Linked DNA regions of Homo sapiens: region 2 is linked to region 1. The links are contacts of gene promoters, found by promoter capture Hi-C in blood cells and fetal thymus (Javierre and others, 2016). All regions are on one chromosome and are shown on one strand. The core of a region is centred on a gene start or on the middle of the fragment in contact, and the rest is flanking DNA. Distances in the headings are between cores, read along the strand shown. Region 1 holds the start of MEFV (MEFV innate immunity regulator, pyrin). Region 2 overlaps CLUAP1 (clusterin associated protein 1).

Region 1 (5,561 bases), core at 1,088-3,587:
CTGGATTTGCGGGCGCCTTCTCCCCTGTAGAAATGGTGACCTCAAGGCTTCTAGGTCGCATCTTTCCCGAGGGCAGGTACACTTCGAAGGGCCTGCACTCCTTCTGCCCCGGGGCGCCCCCCGCCAGCCCCTGCAGCCTCCCCGCGGAGCTGGCGTTTCTGCGCAGCCGGACCTCGGCCTGGCCCCCCTCTAGCGCCCTGCAGGGGCCGGGGCTTCTCCCGCCCGGCAGGGCCGGGCTCCGGGTCCGAGGCTTGCCCTGCGCGTCCAGGCCCTCCGAGGCCTTCTCTCTGCGTTTGCTCAGGGGCTTCCTCGACAGCCCCCTCCCGGCCTCGGGCTGGCTGCACCGCAGGCTGGCAGCTCCGCCCCCGTACGGCCGAGGGCCGTTCCCCTCGTTCCCCTCGGGGTGGTCTGGAGTCTTCAGGCTCCTGGGCTTGTTCTCCCCCAGGGAGCTGGACGCTGCGGAATCATCTGTGCCGTTTTCTTGTGTGGAATATTCTGGAAGGACAACCAGATGCAAAATGATGAAGCTGTCCCACGTTTAGGGCCCAAGATTCAGGGCAGAGGAGAGAGAATCCCCTTGGATATTAAAGTTTAGAAATTGAGGAAAACAACGGGCCGGGCGCGGTGGCTCATGCCTGTATTCCCGGCACTCTGGGAGGCCGAGGCGGGAGGATCACCTGAGATCAGGAGTTCAAGACCAACAGGGTGAAACCCCGTCTCTACTAAAAATACAAAAATAAGCTGAGCGTGGTGGCGCATGCCTGTAATCCCAGCTTCTCCAGAGGCCAAGGTGGGAGGATCATTTGAGGTCAGGAGTTCGAGACCAGCCTGGCCAACATGGCAAAACCCCGTTCCTACTAAAAATAAGAAACTCAGCCAGACGCGGTGGTGCGCACCTGTAGTCCCAGCTACTCGGGAGGCTGAGGCATGAGAATCGCTTGAGCCCGGGATGTGGAGGTTGCAGTGAGCTGAGATCGGGCCACTGCACTCCAGCCTGAGTGACAGAGCAAGACTCCATCTCAAAAACAAAAGTTCAGGACTTCCTAGACTAGACAATGGCAGTCAATTACCATTCAGTAAGAACATGCTTGATGTTGCTATGTATTTCTCTCTCTCTTATTTTATTTTTTGAGACAGGATCTTGCTCTGTTGCCCTGATGTGATCTCAGCTCACTGCAACCTCTGCCTCCCAGGCTCAAGCAATCCTCTCACCTCAGCCTGTTTTCTGTTTTTTCAATAGCTGAAAATACAGGTGTGTGCTACCACGCCTGGCTCATTTTTTTGTATTTTTGGTAGAGACAGGGTTTCACCATGTTGCCCAAGCTGGTCTCAAACTCCTGAGCTCTAGCAATCCACCCACCTTAGCCTCCCAAAGTGCTGAGATTATTTATAAGTGTGAGCCACCATGCCTAGCCTATATTTCTCAAATAGTACTTTTCAAACGTTTTAAGCAGGACAACTGTTTCAAATAAGATCTTACACAGGTCAGCAAAACCCAGATTATACGCTTTAAAAATAAAAATAAGCCGGGCACGGTGGCCTATGTCTGAAATCCCAGCACTTTGGGAGGCTGAGGCGGGAGGATCACTTGAGGTCAGGAGTTCGAGACCAGCCTGGCCAACATGGTGAACAGCACTGAGAAGATTCTATACCAACCCCGTTCATATGATTGCATAGCAATCCCTTTTTGCTAACCTAGAGATGTTTGTCTGACATGAGTATTAATCATAAATGTAGTGAAGAAGTCTCAAAGAACAGGTGTTCCAGCTCCTGCCTTTCGTGACCCTGACCTGCTTCTTAAAAAACCCATTAGGAGCCTGAAGGAAGTTTACTAACCCAGTTCCAAAGGCCAGAGTGAAGAAAGGGACGTTCCTGAACTAAAGTCATCTGGATTTTGGTAGACCTGAGACTCCCAATCCCCAGGTCAGAGTGAGCTGCTCTGAGCTCCTGGTCCCCTTTCCCACAAAGCAGCCAGCACTCAGCACTGGATGAGGAGGAGGCCTGGGCCCGCTTACCCTGAATGGCTGCCCTGTGGAGCTCCTCGGCCAGCAGGCGCTGGTTGATGGCCCGCAGGACCTGCAGGGTGAGCTGCACGGCGTACTCTTCCCCATAGTAGGTGACCAGCAGAGTGGCCATCTTCACCGGCCTGGCTCTCTGGATCTGGCTCCGGGGGATCCTGGAGTGCTCCTTCTGCACACTGGTGTTCTGCAGCTTGAACTTGAACTTCTCGAAGTCATAGGGCACCAGCTCCTCCAGGGTGGACAGCAGATGGTCACTAGGGGTCTTAGCCATGGTGCTGAGCAGGAGAGGCTCGAGCCAGCTGTCTGGCTTCTGGTAGGAAAAGAAGCCTCTGTCCTTGGTGAGCAAGAAAAGGCAGGTTGTGAAATAGCGGAAAAGGCACAGGAAATGCTCTGTGTCTTGGTGGGAACTGAGACTAAGGGTAAGGGTGTGTCCATGCCGGCTGTGTTCTCTTCTTACAGGTTCAGAGGATTTTCCAGCTGGGAGGGCTCCATGCCTTGGCAGACATGTGCCCCCACACCCCTCCCAAACCCTGGACCTCGCCTCCACACTAGACCACAGACAGATGGGCAAGTCTGCAAGGGAAGGTCTGGGATTGGATTCCAGACACCCCCTCCAATCTTCCTTCCTGCCAGGATCTGGGGCTGGCAGAGCGGGTGAGTGGGAACAGAGAGGACTATGCTGAGGGCCCGCCCTGCTGGTCAACTGTTCTCCTCCAGACTCGGGGTTTCAGGGACCTTCCAGAGCCAATGGCACAGGACGGGGGAAGGGGTGGGCACTGAATACAGTCCTGTGAGCTTTGCCTTTCCTGGCCCAAGAAGGCAAGTGAGGCCAGAAGGGCACTGCCAGGAGATAACTCTTGCCATGCCATCACCCCTGTTGATCCGGTTCCAGTTGACTGGTTCTTCCAGCCACATGAAGGACTTGAAAAGCAATGCCTGGACCACCAGCCTGACTCATCTGTTCCCAGAGCTGACTCAGTCCTCGCTCCCTGGAGCCAGAATGCTCTTCCGTGCACATTCATTGAACATTCTAGACAGTGTGCCAAGATGCTGGAGCTACACGGGTGAAAAGGCACGGGTGTCCTTCAGCTCATATGTGGTGCAGGGCCCCAGAGGTGGCTTTGAAGCTAACAGAAGTTACATGTTGGGGGCAGGGCACAGTGGCTAACGCCTGTAATCCCAGCACTTTGGGAGGCCGAGGTGGGTGGATCACCTCAGGTTGGGAGTACAAGACCAGCCTGGCCAACACAGTAAAACCCCATCTCTACTAAAAATACAAAAATTAGCCAGGCATGGTGGCACGCACCTGTACTCCCAGCTACTCAGGAGGCTGAGGCAGGAGAATCACTTGAACATGGGAGGCAGATGTTGCAGTGAGCCGAGGTTGCGCCATTGTACTCCAGCTTGGGCGACAGAGCGGGACTTTGTCTCAAAAAAAATAAATAAATGAAAAATTACATGTAGGGTGAACTGACTCCTCACTTACCTACTTCTGACCGTTGCATACCCTAATTTTTTTATTTTTAGATAGGGTCTTGCTCAGTCACTCAGGCTGGAGTGCAGTAGTGGGATCTTGGCTCACTGCAACTTCTGCCTCCTGGGCTTGAGCAACCCTCCAACCTCAGCCTCCCAAGTAGCTGAGACTACAGGTGCATTCCACCACATCTGGCCAATTTTTGTATTTTTTATAGAGACAGGGTCTCACTATGTTGCGCAGGCTGGTCTTGAACTCCTGATCTCAAGCGATCCACTCGCTTTGGCCTCCCAAAGTGCTGGGATTACAGGTGTGAGCCACTGCGCCCGGCCAGAAGTTTTGTTAATAATGCAATTTACCCTTCACCAGCACTTCCTCGGCACCAGCCACCACTAGCTTTATAAACACTTCCTCCTAGAATCTCTGCAGCACCCTGCAGGGCTGCGTTTATCATCCCCCTGTGCAGCCAAGAATCTGTAGCTTAGTGACTTGCCTAGAGCCAAGATCCAAACGTCAAACCACTTCACAACATCGTCTCCTGCATGACAATAATTTGTGATTTTACTGTTAATGACTACCCATGGATGTCACATTTCCAGCTGACCACTGAGGTCCAGGATGGGTCACTTCCACAGGTCAGTCACAACATTGCGACGCCTAGCTGAACACCCAGCTCTGGGTGTGAGCTCCTCTGTGTGTGCCCAGCCTGGGATTCAAGGCTTTGATGAGTTCTGGTTGGTTGAATTTAACTTACTGTCCAGCTGGTCCACCTGTTTCCTATTTCACAGAGTATTTGGTGTTTTTGCATTGTTTTCATAGCTGACAACAAACATGCAGTTTGCTAGATCTTTCTGAGCCCAAACCCAACATCTTCCCTAAAAAAAGGGTGAATTGGGCTGGGTGTAGTGGCTCACACCTGCAATCCCAGCCCTTGGGAGGCTGAGACAGGAGGATTACTTAAGCCCAAGAGTTTGAGATTAGCCTGGGCAACATAAGGAGACCCTGCCTCTACAAAAAATAGAAAAAATATTAGCTGGGTGTGGTGGCACACACTGGTGGTCCCTGCTGCTACTCAGGAGGCTGAGGTGGGAAGATTGCTTGAGCCTAGGTTCAGGCTGCAATGAGCTGTGATTGCACCACTGCTCTCCAGCCTGGGTGACACAGCAAGACACCCTGTCTCAAAAAAAAAAAAAAAAAAAAAAAAAAAAAGTGGATGAAATGCACATTGATGGTGCAGACAGCAGATTTTTGGAATTTTTAGGCTGGGCCAGAAGAAGGGTGTTGAATGGGGTATCACTGGGGCCAGCACCCGTCCCTGACTCTGGACGGTGGCAACCCAGCACCTCCCAGGCAGTCTCCCACTACCAGATGGAGAAAGGATGAGACTGTGCAGTGACGCTGTGGGTGCTGTGTGATCCCATCTCGTCTGGTCAGAAAACTCCTCGGAGCTGATACCAAAACCCCATGACAGAATTGGGCAGGGAATGATACTTTCTGGTCTAAAGCAGGATATTTTGCAATTGCGGTGACACGTTTTGCAACAGAGGCTGCTCTGAGGCAGGACTTCTGGAAGGCAGTGTTTTGATGCCACTTTGGACTTTCTAGGGCAAGGCAGGCTCACAAAGCTTTTGTTTGGAGGGGTTCCAGTAATTTCTCACAGTGAAAATAGAATTATTGCCCTTCTAACGTCATTTAAGTGTTTAATAATCAAAGTGGAATGGTCATGGGCTGTCTTGTGTGCCCCTGCCATTGGATGTGTGACCTTATTTGGGGTGACATGGCAAATCTAAACCCAACAAAGCTGCTGCAAAGGGTCTACTCTCGGCTATTACTCCTGGGAAATGTGCGGCTCAGACACCACGACCTTCACTCCACTCCTGGTCACCAGGGGTTTCACTTTCTATGGCATTTACTTCTGCACATTTTGGGATTTAAAAAAATGAAGATTGTATTACTTTCGTAATAAGCAAAAAAGATAGTTTTAAAAAGTCTTTCAGACCAGGTGTGGTGGCGCACGCCTGTAATTTCAACACTTTGGAAGGCCGAGACAGGTGGATCACTTGAGG
Region 2 (5,561 bases), core at 1,707-4,206, 260 kb after region 1:
GAAACCATGAGTTTTCACTGGCATAAAAAAATAAATGAATATTGGAGGCTGAGGAGGAGCAGGTCATTCACACAGATTCGAAGTAACTTTCCACAAAGTACTTTTTTTTTCTTTTTTTTTTTTTTGAGACGGAGTCTTGCTCTGTTGCCCAGGCTGGAGTACAGTGGCACAACCTCGGCTCATTGCAACCTCTGCCTCCCAGGTTCAAGTGATTCTCCTGAGTAGCTGGGATTACTGGCGCACACCACTACACCCAGCTAATTATTGTATTTTTGTTTTATTTTATTTATTTATTTGTTTATTTTTTTAGACGAAGTCTTGCTATGTCACCCAGGCTGAAGTGCAGTAGCGCCATCTCAGCTCACTGCAATCTCTGCCTCCTGGGTTCGAGCAATTCTCGTGCCTCAACCTCCCAAATAGCTGGAAGTACAGGCATGCGCCACCACGCCCAGCTAATTTTTGTTTTTTTTTTTAGTAGAGATGGAGTTTTGCCATGTTTGGCCAGGCTTGTCTCAAACTCCTGACTTCAGGTGATCCGCCCGCCTTGACCTCTCAAAGTGCTGGGATTACAGGCATGAGGCATTGTGCCTGGCCCGCAGAGTACTTATTAATTACAGAGGGGAAAAGAGTCACTTCTCAGGGAGAAGCCTGCCAGTCACCCCCTTAATCAAGAGATCAAAGTGAACATCATCGTTACAGAACAAATCAAAATCATGCACGCCTGGTAGGATGCAGTCACTTCTGAGTATTCCTGCCAACGATGCATATCTGACTCTAATGAGACAAAGCCGGATTGAGGGGCATTCTACAGATTAACCAGCCTGTATGCTCCCAGAGTGAAAAGGTTCTGAAAGTCAAGGAAAGCTGAGGGGGCATTTCAGACTGAGGGAGGCTGTGGAGATGTGATAACTGGACACATAGGCAGCTCCTATCTGCTGTTGGGGACTTCACTGGGACAAGTGGGGACAGTGGAGTGGGGCTGGAGTTAGACGGTGGTAGTGTGTTAGTGCTGGCTTCCTGTTTTGATGATTGTATTGTGGGGATGTAGGAGAAAGTCCTTATTTGTAGGAAATACACGCTAAAGTATTCAGGGTATTGGAACGTCTGGTCAGCAACTTACTGTCACCTAGGTTGGGAAAAACGCTTTGTGTTGTACAACAGGTTTTCCGTAAATTTTTGATTGTTTCTAAATTTAAAAATTAAAAAAAAATTATTATACCTCTTATCCTTGCCAGTGTTCTAACTGAATCAGGTGAACACGGCATGAATGTGCCCTTAGCACTAATATGTTAAAAGTAGAACACCCAAGAGAGGACAGGGTTCATTTCTTGGTAGACATCTCTTAAGACTCCTTTCATTGTTAGAAAATATCTGTGATGTTTGATCATTCTAAAAACAACCAAAACAACATGGGTACTTAAAAGGGTTTGGGGAGTACAGGCCATTTATTTCAGAAACCAGGGAAAATTGCTTGTGTTTACACAGCTGTTTTGCATTGTGGATCTTTCTTGTTTGAGGAACAGATATGTTTAAGGTGGGATAAATTTACTAGGTTTTAATCTGACTTTGGTTCGAGGAAACAGTTGCCATTAACTGAAGTTGTTTAGAAAGGAGACCCACCTTTCTTCCTGTGAGGGTGAACTCGCATTTCTCCTGGGGGCTCTAAGGCACTTGCAGCAAATCGATGATAAGGGTCTGATTATTTTCATGAAAGTATCTTAGAAGTGGCTAGTGTACTTAGACCAAAAAAATTAGACCATAAACGCATTGTCAGTAACAGTGGCTGGTTCCAAAACACACCATGCCTGAGAGTTGTGGAGAGTGTCTGGGCTTCGTAGGCCATTTCTCTGTGGAGCCCATAGCTTTTCAGAGACTTGCAGGAAAACAGAGTAACCCCTTCGTGGGATGCTACACATAGGCAAAGAGCTGGAGGGGAAGCCCCACCTTGGCCACCAGGAACTTAATGCAGGGCTGGAAAGCCAGAACCCTGGGGGGCAGTTCCACGCTCAGCTGGGTGGCAGTCCAGATTCCTCATAAAGAGATTGGAGCCTGAACCCCAGGCATGTGATCCAGCCAGCCACCGGACAAGACGCATGTGAAGACGGCGCACTACCAGTGACTCTACCTGCTTCAAATGAACCTTCTCTTAGGATAGGGAGACTTGTGTCACCGTCAGTGGGCCCGTGTCCCCCTTCCCTTCTTTACTCAGCCTCTGTTGCCCAAGGGCCTCTGTCCAACTGTTGCCCTGGACCCCTTCCAGAGCTGGTGCACACCAGTGTGGCCATTGCCACTGTGGGAACTGCTTTCGTACTGTCTTCAGAGTGGTTTCTCCTCGTTTTTAGTCTGTAGTCAAGCTTCTGTTGCCAGGGAGAGGGAAGAGGACCTTCTCTCAATCCCAGCAGGCAGTGGGTTAGGGCTGGGACCAGCTGTTTCTTTCTCTCCCCTCCTAGTAGAGCAGTACTTGGTGTGTGTGGGTATTCTGTAAGTCGGGTGTTTGTAACTAGGGGCATGGCCCGAATGATAAAAAGGCAGACTGACCGTCCAGAGTGATGTGCACCTTGTTCTAACCGAGTGAGCCAGAGAAAAGACTGCAGGCCTCTCCACCTTGACCAGGACACTCTTCTTTGCATCTTCACTTCTTTCCCTGGGTAGAAATGCCTGCTTTTCATGGGGAAAAAAAAAGAGATACCTTTTTCTGGACCTGTGTGACATTCTCCCTGGAACTAGTGGGTTAAGTGAGTCATTGCTTGGGGAAGTGTCTATTTGTTTGCTTTTGTGTTTGTTGAGCATAATGTTGCTATGCCTGAAGAGTTGCAAAATTCTTCTAAGAATTAGGATGGCTGTTTTTATTGCCACCTTGTCTCATTATTTCCCATTAAATATAGACACAGGTTCAGAAGACTAAAGACCTGCTCAATAATGTGGCCTCTGATGAAGCTAATTTAGAAGCCAAAATCGAAAAGAGAAAATTAGAACTGGAAAGAAATCGGAAGCGACTAGAGACTCTGCAGAGTGTCAGGTAGATATGAACACTTGGAGAATGAGTAGAAAGATGTCCTGGAAAGTTCAAACAAACTGGGCGTGGTGGCTCATGTCTGAAATCTCAGCTACTCATGAAGCTGGGGCGGGGGGTTCTCTTGAGCCCAGGAGTTTGAGACCAGCCTGGGCAGCATAATGAAACCCCATCTCTAAAAATTTTTAAAAATTACCTCAGTATGGTGATACACACCTGTAGTCCCAGCTACTTGGGAGGCTGAGGCGGGAGGATTGCTTGAGCCCAGGAGGTTGAGGCTGCAGTGAGCTATGGTTGCATCACTGCACTCCAGCCTGAGCCACAGAACAAGGCCGAGTAACAGAACAAGGCCCTGACTCTAAAAGAAAAAAAAAGTTAGAACAAAGACTTAAGAGAATAGAATGTGATCTTAACTCTTCTCAAGCAATGAAAAAAAGCCTTACATAAGGGTATCTTCACCTCAAATGTACATGTGTTGCCTGTCATAACAAGCAGATGGCTAAACTCATTCTCTTTACTGCTTGCGGTATGTCTGGAAAACTGCTTAAAGCTTGAACTGCCCTTTAAGCTTTTATAGCTTCTTGGAACTCAAGGCAGAGTAAGTGAATCCAGACGGGGAAATCCAGACGTGGTCTCCTAAGATCTTGCCATAAATTAGGTAGAAACAGAAACATACTCCTGCCTGTTTGTTGGCATAGATTTTAGACTTTATTTAAACCTTGATCATTCCTCACCAGTCAGTAATTCATCTTTCTTCCTACGTTACCTCATTGGAAATATATTTCCCAGGAATACCGATGGAGAATAGTGGTGCCGGCTCTCTCTCTCTTCTCTTCCTCGTTCTGTGCCTCTTTCCCTCCCCCATGCTTCTGCTCTTTCTCCCTTTTCATTCACCCTTTATTTTTCTTTCTTCTTGGCTCCCTCCTCTTCCCAGCTGCCTACTCTGCTCGGATGTTTTGCCTTTTTGGATGTTGGTGGCTGGCTACACCCTGCCCACTGTCCCGAGGTCTGTGGGGAGGCAGCACCTGGAGGCAGCGACAGCAACCACAGGGAGCGCCCTGGCTCCTCCCTGCCCAGCGCAAGGCCAAGGCCCTTCCCCTCCTGAAACTGGCTCTTTACCTCTGGAGCCTCAGAGAGGGAAAAAAAAAAAAACAGAAGTCATTGCCGCCATATAGATTGATCTCCTTGACACATTCCACTTTTAAAGCATCAATTCATTTTTGTTAAGCTCCAAATCATTTTAACAGAAAAGTCTCTTTGTTTTGCTCTAGTTCAAAAGATTATAATTATTTCTGAGTTTATCTGCTTATATTTTTAAAAGAGTAGAATTTTCCCTTTAAGGTCAATAATAAGAAAAAAGAAAAAGTTCAGCAAACCAGTATAGATTTTTATGGTTTTTTTTGTTTTTGTTTTTTTTTTTTGAGTTGGAGTTTCGCTCTTGTTGCCGAGGCTGGAGTGCAATGGCGCGATCCCGGCTCACTGCAAACTCTGCCTCCCGGATTCAAGCGATTCTCCTGCCTCAGCCTCTCAAGTAGCTGGGATTACAGGCGGCCGCCACCACGCCCAGCTAATTTTTGTATTTTTAGTAGAGACGGAGTTTCACCATGTTGGCCAGGCTGGTCTTGAACTCCTGACCTTGTGATCCACCTGCCTTGGCCTCCCAAAGTGCTGGGATTACAGGCATGAGTCATCATCACGCCTGGCCTTTTTAAAAAATTTTTTATCGTTTAAAAACCTCTTTAGACTGGGCACAGTGATTCACGTCTATAATCCCAGCACTTTGAGAGGCCAAGGCGGGCAGATCGCTTGAACTCAGGGGTTCAAGACCAGCCTGGGCAATATGGCGAAACCCCATCTCTACAAAAAAAAAATATAAAAAATAGCTGGGCATAGTGGCACATGTCTGTAGTCCCAGCTACTTGGGGGCCTGAGACAGGAGGATCACCTGAGCCCAGGCGTTCGATGCTGCAGTAAGCCATGATCACACCACTGCACTGTAGCCTGGGTGACAAAGTGAGACCCTGTCTCAACAAACAAAAAAAAACCACCAGCCTTAATTCGTAACAACCTGTGGTCCCCTTTTTAGAGGATTGCTTTAAATTTATAATATCCTGACAGTAGAACATTATTATTATTATTATTATTTCTTTTGAGATGGAGTCTCTCTGTGTTGCCTAGGCTGGAGTGCAGTGGCGCAATCTCGGCTCACTGCAACCTCCACCTCCCAGGTTCAAGCAGTTCTCCTGCCTCAGCCACCCGAGTAGCTGGGATTACAGGCATGTGCCACCACGCCTGGCTAATGTTTGTATTTTTAGTAGAGACGAGGTTTCACCATGTTGGCCAGGCTGGTCTGAAACTCCTGACCTCAGTTGATCCACCCGCCTCAGTCTCCCAAAGTGCTGGGATTACAGGCGTGCGCCACCGCACCCGGCCAACAGTAGAACATTATACCCAAATAAGATAATAATATATATATTTATTGATTTGGAGAGATGTGTCTGGTATGTGATTTTTTTGCCTTTAGAGATGGGGTCTCAATGTGTCACCC

Evidence for each region. The method cuts DNA at HindIII sites, captures the fragments that hold promoters and counts their contacts. A CHiCAGO score of 5 or more calls a contact.
Region 2: a fragment that was not itself captured here is called in contact with the fragment with the promoter of MEFV in region 1 in 1 of 17 cell types (megakaryocytes); the score reaches 6.1 in megakaryocytes.

What each region holds. Positions count from the first base shown.
Region 1 is chr16:3,254,296-3,259,856 of GRCh38, forward strand. It overlaps MEFV (MEFV innate immunity regulator, pyrin), which reads right to left and starts at 2,338. Exons shown (of 10, transcript NM_000243.3): 1 at 2,016-2,338; 2 at 1-495. The coding sequence starts at 2,292. The HindIII fragment of the contact is 7,994 bases long and covers 1-5,118 here.
Region 2 is chr16:3,517,018-3,522,578 of GRCh38, forward strand. It overlaps CLUAP1 (clusterin associated protein 1), which reads left to right. Exons shown (of 12, transcript NM_015041.3): 7 at 2,886-3,019. Among named protein-coding and RNA genes, the nearest start is that of CLUAP1, 19 kb to the left of the region's middle. The HindIII fragment of the contact is 1,209 bases long and covers 2,353-3,561 here.